2 separate regions of the Homo sapiens genome follow, and region 1 is linked to region 2. Evidence: promoter capture Hi-C in 16 types of primary human blood cells and fetal thymus (Javierre and others, 2016). All regions are on one chromosome and are shown on one strand. Each heading gives the region's core, a stretch centred on a gene start or on the middle of the fragment in contact. The rest is flanking DNA. Distances are from core to core; before and after follow the strand shown. Region 1 holds the start of PTER (phosphotriesterase related). Region 2 holds the start of STAM (signal transducing adaptor molecule).

Region 1 (5,118 bases), core at 2,104-4,603, 1.2 Mb before region 2:
CTTTGTAGCTGCTTCTTTCAAAAAAGAAATAAAATCTCTTTACTAGTATCTTTTTAAGGAGTAAAGCCACAGAAATAAGAGCGTGCATTTGAAATCCATCACAAATCTTGCTCAGTGGATTTACTGTGGGCAGTGGAGAATTTAGTAACTTCCATAAAGAAAAACTAAAGTTTACTTTTCAATTTTTTTTTTTTTTGAGACAGGGTCTCTCTCTGTCACTAGGTTGAAGTGCACTGGCATGATCTCAGCTCACTGCAATCTCCACCTCCCAGGTTCAAGCAATTCTCATGCCTCAGCCTCCTGAGTGGCTGGGACTACGGGCATGCACCACCACACCCGGCTAATTTTTGTATTTTTAGTAGAGATGGGGTTTTACCATGTTGGCCAGGCTGGTCTCCAATTCCTGGCCTCAAGTGATCTGCCCACCTTGGCCTCCCAAAGTGGTGGGACTACAGGCGTGAGCCACTGCGCCTGGCCTGAAGTCATTTTTTAACAAGGACCTCATGTATCATTTAACATCTAGCAGCATAGACTACTAAAATACGTAACATTATAAATAATGGACTTTCGAGCCTCTCCTTACCACCCACTGTCGGGTACACATTTATATGGCTCCATGCTTGTAGCACACACAAAGTGGGAGCCAGCACTGAAATCACTCCAGAAGCCTCCCTGGATCCATCTCCTCATTACAGAATCTCAGTGTGAGCCCGTCATTGCTACTAATATCCAACTGTCCCAGCACTCATGCCTCTGCAGTTCTTAACCCCTACAGTTATTCTTGTCTTTCCTACTCTTGGGCCCTATTTTTATCCCTTTTCTGTTTCTAGGATTTACCCAGCCACCCTCCTTAAGAACCAATTTTTTCCTCAGTATCTTCTCCCTGACTGTCCCTTACCAACCAACCCCTTTTCTAAATGACTTCTTGTACTTTTACCCTTAAAAAACAAAAAACAGAGAACGAGACCTGTATATCCTTTTCTCCTCCTTTTTTTCTGATTTAAATGAATTAATTTATTTCTATTAATCTCCTATCAAAGCACCCCATTCTCTCCTGGTGCGGTGGCTCACGCCTGTAATCCCAGCACTTTGGGAGGTCAAGGCAGGTGGATCAGTTGAGGTCAGGAGTTCGAGACCAACCTGGCCAGCATGGCAAAACCTCATGTCTACTAAAATTACACAAAATTAGCTGAGCATGGTGGGGCGTGCCTGTAATCCCAGCTACTCAGGAGGCTGAGGCAGGAGAATCCCTTGAAACCAGGAGGTGGAGGCTGCAGTGAGGTGAGATTGCACCACTGCACTCCAGCCTGGGCAACAGAGCAAGACTCTGTCTCAAAAACAAACAAACAAACAAACCAAAAAAATTCCCCATTCTTTACTAAGAAGGCAAGTGTAGTGACTGATATCAACTAATCTGGGTCCCTAGTCCTATCCTTGAACAAGGTGCTTGCCTAAGTTTGTTTTCTTGTCTGTAATTGGAGGGAAATAGCTCCTGCCACATGCAGGTTGCTCAAAATCTTAAACAAAATAACATACACCCATTACAAAACCTGGTAGAGTTGGCCCCGATAAACATCATCTATTAATATTATTATTAAAACTCTACTTTCCTTTGAAATGACATCTGTAGCTTCTGCCCATCTGCATACCTATTCTCTTTTTTCTCAGAATTCAGGATAAAATTAATTGACTAGGCCTTGTGCTGTGGCTTATGCATGTAGTCCTAACACTTTGGGAGGCTGAGGTGGGAGGATCCTTTGAGCTTAGGAGTTTGAGACCAGGCTGGGCATCATAGCGAGACCTCCATCTCTACAAAAATTACAAATATTAGCTGAGTGTGGTGGTGCACACCTGTAGTCCCAGCTGCTCAGGAGGCTGAGGCAGGAGGATCCCTTGAGCCCAGGAGTTCAAGGCTGCAGTGAGCTATGACTGCACCACTGAAATCCATCCTGGGCAACAGAGCCATTTCAAAATAATAATAATAATAATTGATGACAGTGTAATATGGTTGGGGTTCAGAAAATGATACCCCAAAATGAAGGCCTTAGAAGCAGCTCTCTCTAACCTCATGTCCTCCTGCCTCTGGCCCCTCATTCTAGAAACTGGAATCCCTCTTCCCCAAGGTGATTCACAGAAGCCAGAACCCCTCATCCCCAAAGCCAAGCATAAAACCTAAAAGTTTGACTCTGCGTGTCCCCTGCCTTTCTGTGTCAAAACTGGCGGTAAAGAAATTCTCTGCCCTGCTTTGTTTGACTGTAGGTCATAAGACCCCCATTCCAGAAAGGATCCTGCTCTATACCCAGAAGGAAGGAACACTGCACAGAAAAGCCAAAAAGAATCTAAACAGACAGGGCTTGCTCACTTAGTCTATTGGCATTAGCTCAGACCCTTTTTATGCCATCGTAGTATCTCTTAGGTTGGTGCAGAAGTAATTGCGGTTTTTGCCATTAAAAACCGCAATTACTTTTGCACCAGCTGAATACATGGCGGTCCATACTTTATTGAACCTAAGCGAAAAAATGGACCGTTTCCCCTGCATCTTTGGGTTTTCATTCTGAAGGCTCCCGGATCACATAAAGTTACGATCTAGTATATTTGTATGCCTTTTCTACTGTGAAACTGTCTTTTGTCAGTTGATTTTCAGCAAACTTTCAGAGGACGAAGGAGAGGTTTGCCCTTGGCCCCCTACAATACCTAAAGGTATGACTCTTTACTGTGGCAGCTGCTCCAAGCATCATGTTTTGCCAACAGACTCACACATACTAAGTTTATTTCAGTCACAGCAAGTACCAGGGCCAGTTCAAGTGCTCTAGCACGGCACTCTAATTCTAAAGAGAAGGAAACGCGGCACCGGGGCAGGAAACAGTGACAAGTGGGAACACAAAAACCAAAGTTCTCCGTATGCAGCATGAGGATCCAGAACCCACTGTGACATCAAATTGCCAGAGCACCACCTCCGATTTATTCTTGGGGAAAACCAAAAGAGCTACGGAATGCTCCCTTGTTCCAGACTGTTCTATGGAGAACTGGGATCTGGGGAAAATGCAACAGTTTCTTTCCGTTTGGGGATCTAGCCCCGAATTTTTTTCATTCAGCCAAACTACCGACAGTCAGACAGCGCCTGCAGGAGGGTGTGGCCAGGCAAAAACGCGGGGAACGGCCCCGGACCAGGGTGGGGCGTGGCAAGGGTTTGAAGGGCGTGTCCTACGAAGAGGTAGGGCTTGGCAAGGACCCACGGGGCGTGTCCTAGGACTCGGTGAGGGCGTGACCTCGGGCCAGGGGCGGGGAGAGAACCAGAGGGCGAAGTGGGAGGGCACAGGGGAGACTAAAAAGGCCAGGGAAGTTGGCCTGCCGGAAGTTCCCAGGGAGAAGGCAGCGCGTTGTACCCGAGGTAAGGCTTCTTGGAGTCAGAGCAGGAGCCGGAACTGTGGGCCCAGTAGGAAGAGTGGGGCCCGACGGCGGAGGCCGCGCGGCCAGGGTTCGCTGCAGAGCTCCACGCGAGGGTCCTGCCGGAAGGAAGGATTTTCTAGCCGCTGCGCTTGGGCCCTGCCGCCTCTCCTTAAGTGCTTGAGGGACGTTGCAAAGAGCGCCAGTCCCGTGTGGCGCCAGCTCCCTGTGGCTCGACAGCAATGCCCGGGGGCGTCATCGGGTAGCTGTGCTAAGCCTCCTTTAATAAGCTTTTTTTTTTTTTTTTTTTTAGATTCAGGGTCTGGCTCTGCTTCCCAGGCTAGAGTGCATTTGGCGCGATCACAGCTCACTGCAGCCTCGACCTCCTGAGCTCAAGCGAACTTCCTGCCTCAGCCTCCTGAGCTTCCTGAGTAGCTGCGACTACAGGCACGTGCCACCATGTCCGGTTATTTTTGTATTTTTTGTAGAGAGTGTCTCGCCATGTTGCCCAGGCTGGTTTCGAACTCCTGGGCTCAATCAGTCTGCTGCCTCGGCCTCCCAAAGTGCTGGCATTACAGGTCTATATTTTTTGACAGTTTATAAAAGCCAATTACCAGCGGTCATATGTCTGAGTCCTGTGCACTCTTGCTTAATCCACTCTGCAGCCCTGTGAAGGATTCTAGTGATAACGACAAAGCTAAGGTACAGAAAAATTAGGCCACACTGCTGGAAAGTTTAGAGATGGAAACAAAGTTTAGAGGTGGAGTCTTTCTGACTCCACAGCCAGTGTGCTGTTACTCTCTTAGACTACCTCATTCTTTGTACATCCCAAGTCAACAGGAACTAAAGGTATACCCTTACATAGGCAGTAAGAGGGGTTGCTGATTTAAAGAACTTTGGACCCAGAAAGAGTAGAGCCCTATTCTAGTTCTGGTTCCAGCTCAGTGACTTTCTACAAGTTGGTTTTCTTTTGCTTTTTTTAAAGACAGAGTCTCGCCCTTGCCCAGGCTGGAGTGCAGTGGTGCGATCTCGGCTCACTGCAACCTCCGCCTCCCGGGATCAAGCGATTCTCTTGCCTCAGCCTTCTGAGTGGCTGGGACTACAGGCGCGCTCCACCACACACAGCTAATTTTTGTATTTTTAGTAGAGACGGGGTTTCACCATACTGGCCAGGCTGATCTCGAACTCCTGACCTTGTGATTCACCCACCTCGGCCTCCTAAAGTGCTGGGATTACAGGCGTAAGCCACCGCGCCCGGCCTCTTGCTTTTTAAGACTAGGTCTCATTATTTCACCAAAGCTGGAGTGCAGTGGTGCTATCACAGCTCACTGCAACCTTCACTTCCCCCGTTCAAGTGATCCTCCCAGCTCAGTCTCCCACAGGTGCACACCACCACGCCCGGCTAGTTTTTATTTTCTGTTTTTTGTTTTTTTTTTTGTATTTTTGGTAGAGACGGGGTTTTGCCATTTTGTCCAGGTTGGTGTCAAACTCCTGGGCTCAAATGATCTGGCTGCCTCGGCCTCCCAAAGTGCTAGGATTACAGGCGTGAGCCACTGCGCCTGGCCTGCCTGTTTTCTAGACACATTAAGGTGAGTGGTCTCAGGCCAGGCGCGGTGGCTCACACCTGTAATCCCGGCACTTTGGGAGGCTGAGGCAGGTGGATCACTTGAGGCCAGGAGTTCGAGACCAGCCTGGCCAACATGTGAAACCTCTTTTCTTCAAAAAATTAGC
Region 2 (5,049 bases), core at 2,470-4,969:
GCCGTTCTAAAGGTTGGAAGTCTGAGATCAGGGTACCAGCATGGTTGGGTTCTGGCGAGGGCTCTCTTACTGGCCTGCAGACAGCTGCCTTCTCGCCACATCCCCACATGGCAGAGAGAGGGAGAGACAGCAAGCAATCCAGTGTCCTTCTTATAAGGGCACTAATCCCATTAGCAAGGCCGCAGCCTCATGACCTCATCTAACTCTAATTATCTCCCAAAGATTCTGTCTCCAAATACCATCACATTGGGCATAAGGGCTTCAATATTTGTATTTTTGAGGATACAATTCAGTCCACAGCTGTAGGAAAGGAGAAAAGACAGCAGGAGGTGAATGTAGTAACTTGCCTAAGAGATGAGGGTATAAACTAAAGTAGTGACAATGCAGAGGAAGAGGAAAGACTGAGAAATAGTAATCATTCCTACTTGGGCTGGAATTATTAAACTGTTAAAAACCTTCCTAGGATATTCTTTTTCCTGAATTTGAAAATTATAGACTTTTTCGTGTAGTAACTCTATTTGCACACCAGTTTTTTGTTTTTTGTTTTGTTTTTTTGTTTGTTTTTTTTGTTTTTTGAGACAGAGTCTCTCTCTGTCGCCCAGGCTGGAGTGAAGTGGCCCGATCTCGGCTCACTGCAACCTCCATACCCCAGGTTCAAGCGATTCTCCTGCCTCATCCTCCTGAGTAGCTGGGATTACAGCTGCCCACCACCACGCCCAGCTAAGTTTTTGTATTTTTGGTAGAGACCGAGTTTCGCCATGTTGGCCAGGCTGGTCTCAAACTCCTGACCTCAGATGATCCACCTGCCTCAGCCTCCCAAAGTGCTAGGATTACAGGCATGAGCCACCACACTTGGCCAGTATTTTTGTTTTTAATGTAGATGAATTTTCAAAATCAAACTGAGAATAAAGGGATATAACATTTAACAAACAACCACAGAATTTATTAAACATACAACATTACAGAAACATTTTAATATGCCATTGATATGTAGTCTTCAAAACGTTTTAAAAACTGTGGTAATACTAAAAGTGAAACTCATAGAATTTCAGTATTTTAAAGGGATAATAAGGGACGTTAACCACAAAATACAAAGCATTTCACTTTTTATGTTTGTCTTTTAAGTTAAATATTAAAAATTTTATATTTAAAAAATGTTTATTATTTATACAGCACATTAATCATCGAGACCCCCCTGCCCCCACAGCTAAAGTCATTCTAGGTCAGAATGCACGGATACTGCTCTCAATACTAGTATGTATTACTCCCAGTGCACACATATTGATAATCAAGGCTTGAACAGTTTGTGCCCTGGCTTATTGCTGGCAACAGAGTAATTCAGTCCGGAGTACAGAACATGTACAAATGCATTTTCATCAATATCTGGCTCTGATACACCCAGTCTGAGCCACCAATATCTGGCTCAGGCACTTATGATAATGGCCCAAGACACTGCTCAGGATCTTAAGGTAAACAAGTTGTCACCTAATTCTGTCAGCCCAGCAATCAAAGCACATTTTTGAGAGGGAATGTTCTGACTTCCGTATCAGTCGTGATATTTCCGAATAATTCTATACTTGTCATAATGAAACACAAGCACGCTTTTGGTATTGGCCCTTCAAAACATTAAGAAACTGGTGGTACCAACATACCATTTTTGACATTGTTGTATTTTAACATTTTTTCTGCTTTTGAAAGGAATACACGCTCATCATTAAAATATTTTGAATAATAAAATGCACAAAGAACAAAAACATTGTCTAGAATCTTGCCACTCAGAGACAATCATGTCATAATATTCTCATGTATTTCCTTTCAGATTTTTAAAATTGTGGGCATTTGTAATTTTATAAGGTTTGTAACTTCCTTCTGAAAACTTGTGTATTCAGATGTCTATGTAAATATGAATCTGTATTATGCACCTTAAATGGCTGTGTAGTTTTCACATCTTATGTACTATGATTTAACTGACCAGTGTAAATTACAGTGATCAGTTACACTTATTTAGTGCTTACTCTATGCCAGGCACTGTAATAAGCGTTTTGCTTGTACTAATTCATTTGATCCTCACAACCCTATTATTCCTGTTTCTTACACATGAGGAAACTGAGACACCAAGAGGTGAAGCAATTTGTCCAATCACTCAATGTGGGACATTTAATGGCTGGCAATGCTTTGATCCTTTAGACAATGTTGCCATGTATACCTTTGTTCATGTTTTAAAAGAATGTCTTTAGGATTAATTTGCCGAAATGGAATTGCTGGGTCCTAAGGTTTTAAAAATTTTTTTACATGCTTCCAAATATTTCCCTTAGGAAGATTATACAGTATTTACACTTCATCCAACAGTATGTGAGTGTCTGACTCCTCACATCCCTGATTCTTTGCAATTTTTTTCTTTTTTTGAGACGGAGTTTCGCTCCCGGGTTCAAACGATTCCCAGCCTCAGCCTCCCGAATAGCTGGGATTACAAGCGCGCACCACCACGCCCGGCTAATTTTTTGTACTTTTAGTAGAGACGGGGTTTCACCATGGCCAGGCTGGTCTTGAACTCCTGACCTCAGGTGATCTGCCGGCCTCGGCCTCCCAGAGTGCTGGGATTACAGGCGTGAGCCACCGCGCCCGGCCGATTCTTTGTAATTTTTACCTAAATGACAAAACATTATCTAACTGCTACTTTAATTTGCACATTTCACTTTTAGAGGTGGGACTTCATTTTTAATGAATTTTTAAGCACTCTTTGATTACTATGTATTAATCCTGTGTTGACATGTCAATATTAGTTTCCACGCTACATTTGGAGATGCCGTAATTTGCGGGATAATTTCCATTTACGTACAAGATGTGCTTACTAAGTTTGTTCCAAGTGGGACGCAACATCTCTAGTAGATGCTCCTTAAAACTTCTCCATCACACAGAGAATAATTTTTATTGGTTAACTAAACTTATAAGTAAAATAAATAAACCAACATTTTGGGTTGCTAGGAATCACTCACTGATCAACTTTTAGCTCCAGTTTTTTTCTGTTTTCTTTTTTTTGCTCAGTCTAGGGAGGCTATCTTGGGCTGTGAAAGACATGTCACCAACCATCACAGCTGCTGAGTGATTGCACGGTTAGTCAGTAGGTGCCAACGCCCTGCTAGAAGAGCTGTCTGCAGATTCCAAAGCCGGGCGTTCAGGGACTCCCGGGAAGGAGCCAGCGTTACCTCAGCCTCTCCGAGGGACACGCGCGCCCTGAACACTCCCCTCTTGGGATTCAGGCCAATTCGTTCAGCTCCCATGACTTCATCCGAGCAAGTTTGTCACCTCACGCAGCTAATTAAACTGTTTACCTAGAAGATGATCCAAAGGAATTTCCATTTCCTTCCAGAGGGAATACAAGGTTATGATAACCGAGAGAGCGAGAGGAAAAAAGGCGCACAGCTCGACCCGAACTCAACCTGCTTTCTTTCTCCTGGCTCTCCCAGTCACTCCTGGGGTTGTTAGTAGGCTTCAGCACGCCTGAAGGACCCCGTCCTACGGAGACTCCTAGCCAAGGGAAAAGCAGAAAACACAAGAACTAATTCCACTCTTATGTGTGACTAATTAAAAGAGGAGTCAGGCAGAGGGGACTCCCTGTTCAGCCTTTACCGATGGGGCAGGCTCGGGGCAGCTTTGAGACAGGCAGCGCCAAGGTCGCCCAGATTCCCGACAAGCTCCGCGCGGGGGCTTCCTCGGCTCCTTGCTGTTGCCGCCGCCGCAGCTGCTGCCGCGGTTGGTGGGGTTGGGTGAGAGGAGGAGCTGTCGCGGACCCTGTAGAGTCGGTCTCTGTTGCTCTTTTTGCCTGAGGAGTCTTCCATCCTACGTCGAGCTCTGACTCCCGTGCTGTCGAGAGGGAGTCCCCGGGGACACCTCGGCACGCAGCGGAGATGCCTCTTTTTGCCACCAATCCCTTCGATCAGGATGTTGGTAAGTGTTTTTGCCTCTCCCTGCCCATTCCTCACCGGACTGCACGCTCACTCTGCCAGCCCCTGCCTGCATTCAGGACCCTCGGGCCAGGGCCAAGGAAGAGCTCGCTCTTCCCCTTTCCTGAGGCTCCCTCCTTCAGAGCTGGGAGGAGGTTGAGGGCTTGGCGCATCCTCTTTGAAAGAAATGGGACTCATCCTGTGAAATGGGCCTTGAGCTAGGACTGTAGGTTGCCAAAGAACTGCTGAATGGGTTGGTGTAAAGGGCCTGGGAGGAGCAGCTGGTGTAGCATCTGGTGCAGGGACTGTGCTTCTGGAAGAACAGCGAAGGGCTTAAGGCGTATGTTGGCTAGATTAGGATTGTAAACCCTGTACCAAAAGTGCTTGCCTAGACAAATAAATGTTGAGCGTCTGGAACTGGCAGAATGTTTTAGGTAAGGTTCCTTAGAGGATTTTAAAATCTTTTGTAACGGTAACTGAAGGAGGGAGCTCTGGTTAAGGGTAGACTCTCAAACATGTTAGGAGCGATGAAGATGAAATACTTGGCAACGACTGAAACCGAATTGAGGACCTGAGCCTTTGGGATGTCTCTCTTAGGCTAGGTCTCTGCACTTTAAAAGGTGTAAAGAAGTGTGGAAGAAGTTGTTGAATCTGGAAAGAGTTTGAAATGCTACATTTTTGTTGTTTTCTGAATCACTGGTATTAGGTACTGATGATGTCAATTCAATAGGTTTGCTTTTGGTTTTTAATTTTATTTTATTTTATTTTTTTCTGACTTGAAGATAATAATTATGGGAATTTGAGTTTCCGGGGAGAGAATTTTGGTTTAATTTGAACGCACGTAGGAACTACCTTGGCACACAAGTGTGGAATGAAAGCAAGCCAAATACCATTTCCAAATCCCTTATGGCAGAATGTAATCATTACTGTGAATAAGGACAACCTTATGAATTTACTTGTCTTTGTGTATTTTAATTATGAAAGGTGGATGTTGAATTTTTCTTTTTAAACTCTTCCTTAGAGCATGTCACTGAAACTTGGAAGTTTATATAAGAGTAGAAAAAAGTTCACTCCTTACCTCTGCCACTTCTCAGCTCACGGTGAA

The links. The method cuts DNA at HindIII sites, captures the fragments that hold promoters and counts their contacts. A CHiCAGO score of 5 or more calls a contact.
Region 1: a contact is called between the fragment with the promoter of PTER here and the fragment with the promoter of STAM in region 2, in 1 of 17 cell types (naive CD8 T cells). The highest score is 5.9, in naive CD8 T cells.

What each region holds. Positions count from the first base shown.
Region 1 is chr10:16,433,657-16,438,774 of GRCh38, forward strand. PTER (phosphotriesterase related) reads left to right here and starts at 3,354. Exons shown (of 5, transcript NM_001261836.2): 1 at 3,354-3,391. RefSeq lists a silencer at 3,229-3,278 and enhancers at 3,699-3,878, 3,899-3,948. The HindIII fragment of the contact is 4,684 bases long and covers 1-3,675 here.
Region 2 is chr10:17,640,432-17,645,480 of GRCh38, forward strand. STAM (signal transducing adaptor molecule) reads left to right here and starts at 3,720. Exons shown (of 14, transcript NM_003473.4): 1 at 3,720-3,948. The coding sequence starts at 3,909. STAM-DT (STAM divergent transcript) reads right to left here and starts at 3,487. Exons shown (of 1, transcript NR_110370.1): 1 at 853-3,487. RefSeq lists enhancers at 2,674-3,322, 3,323-3,972, 3,395-3,464, 3,615-3,734. The HindIII fragment of the contact is 8,791 bases long and covers 1-5,049 here.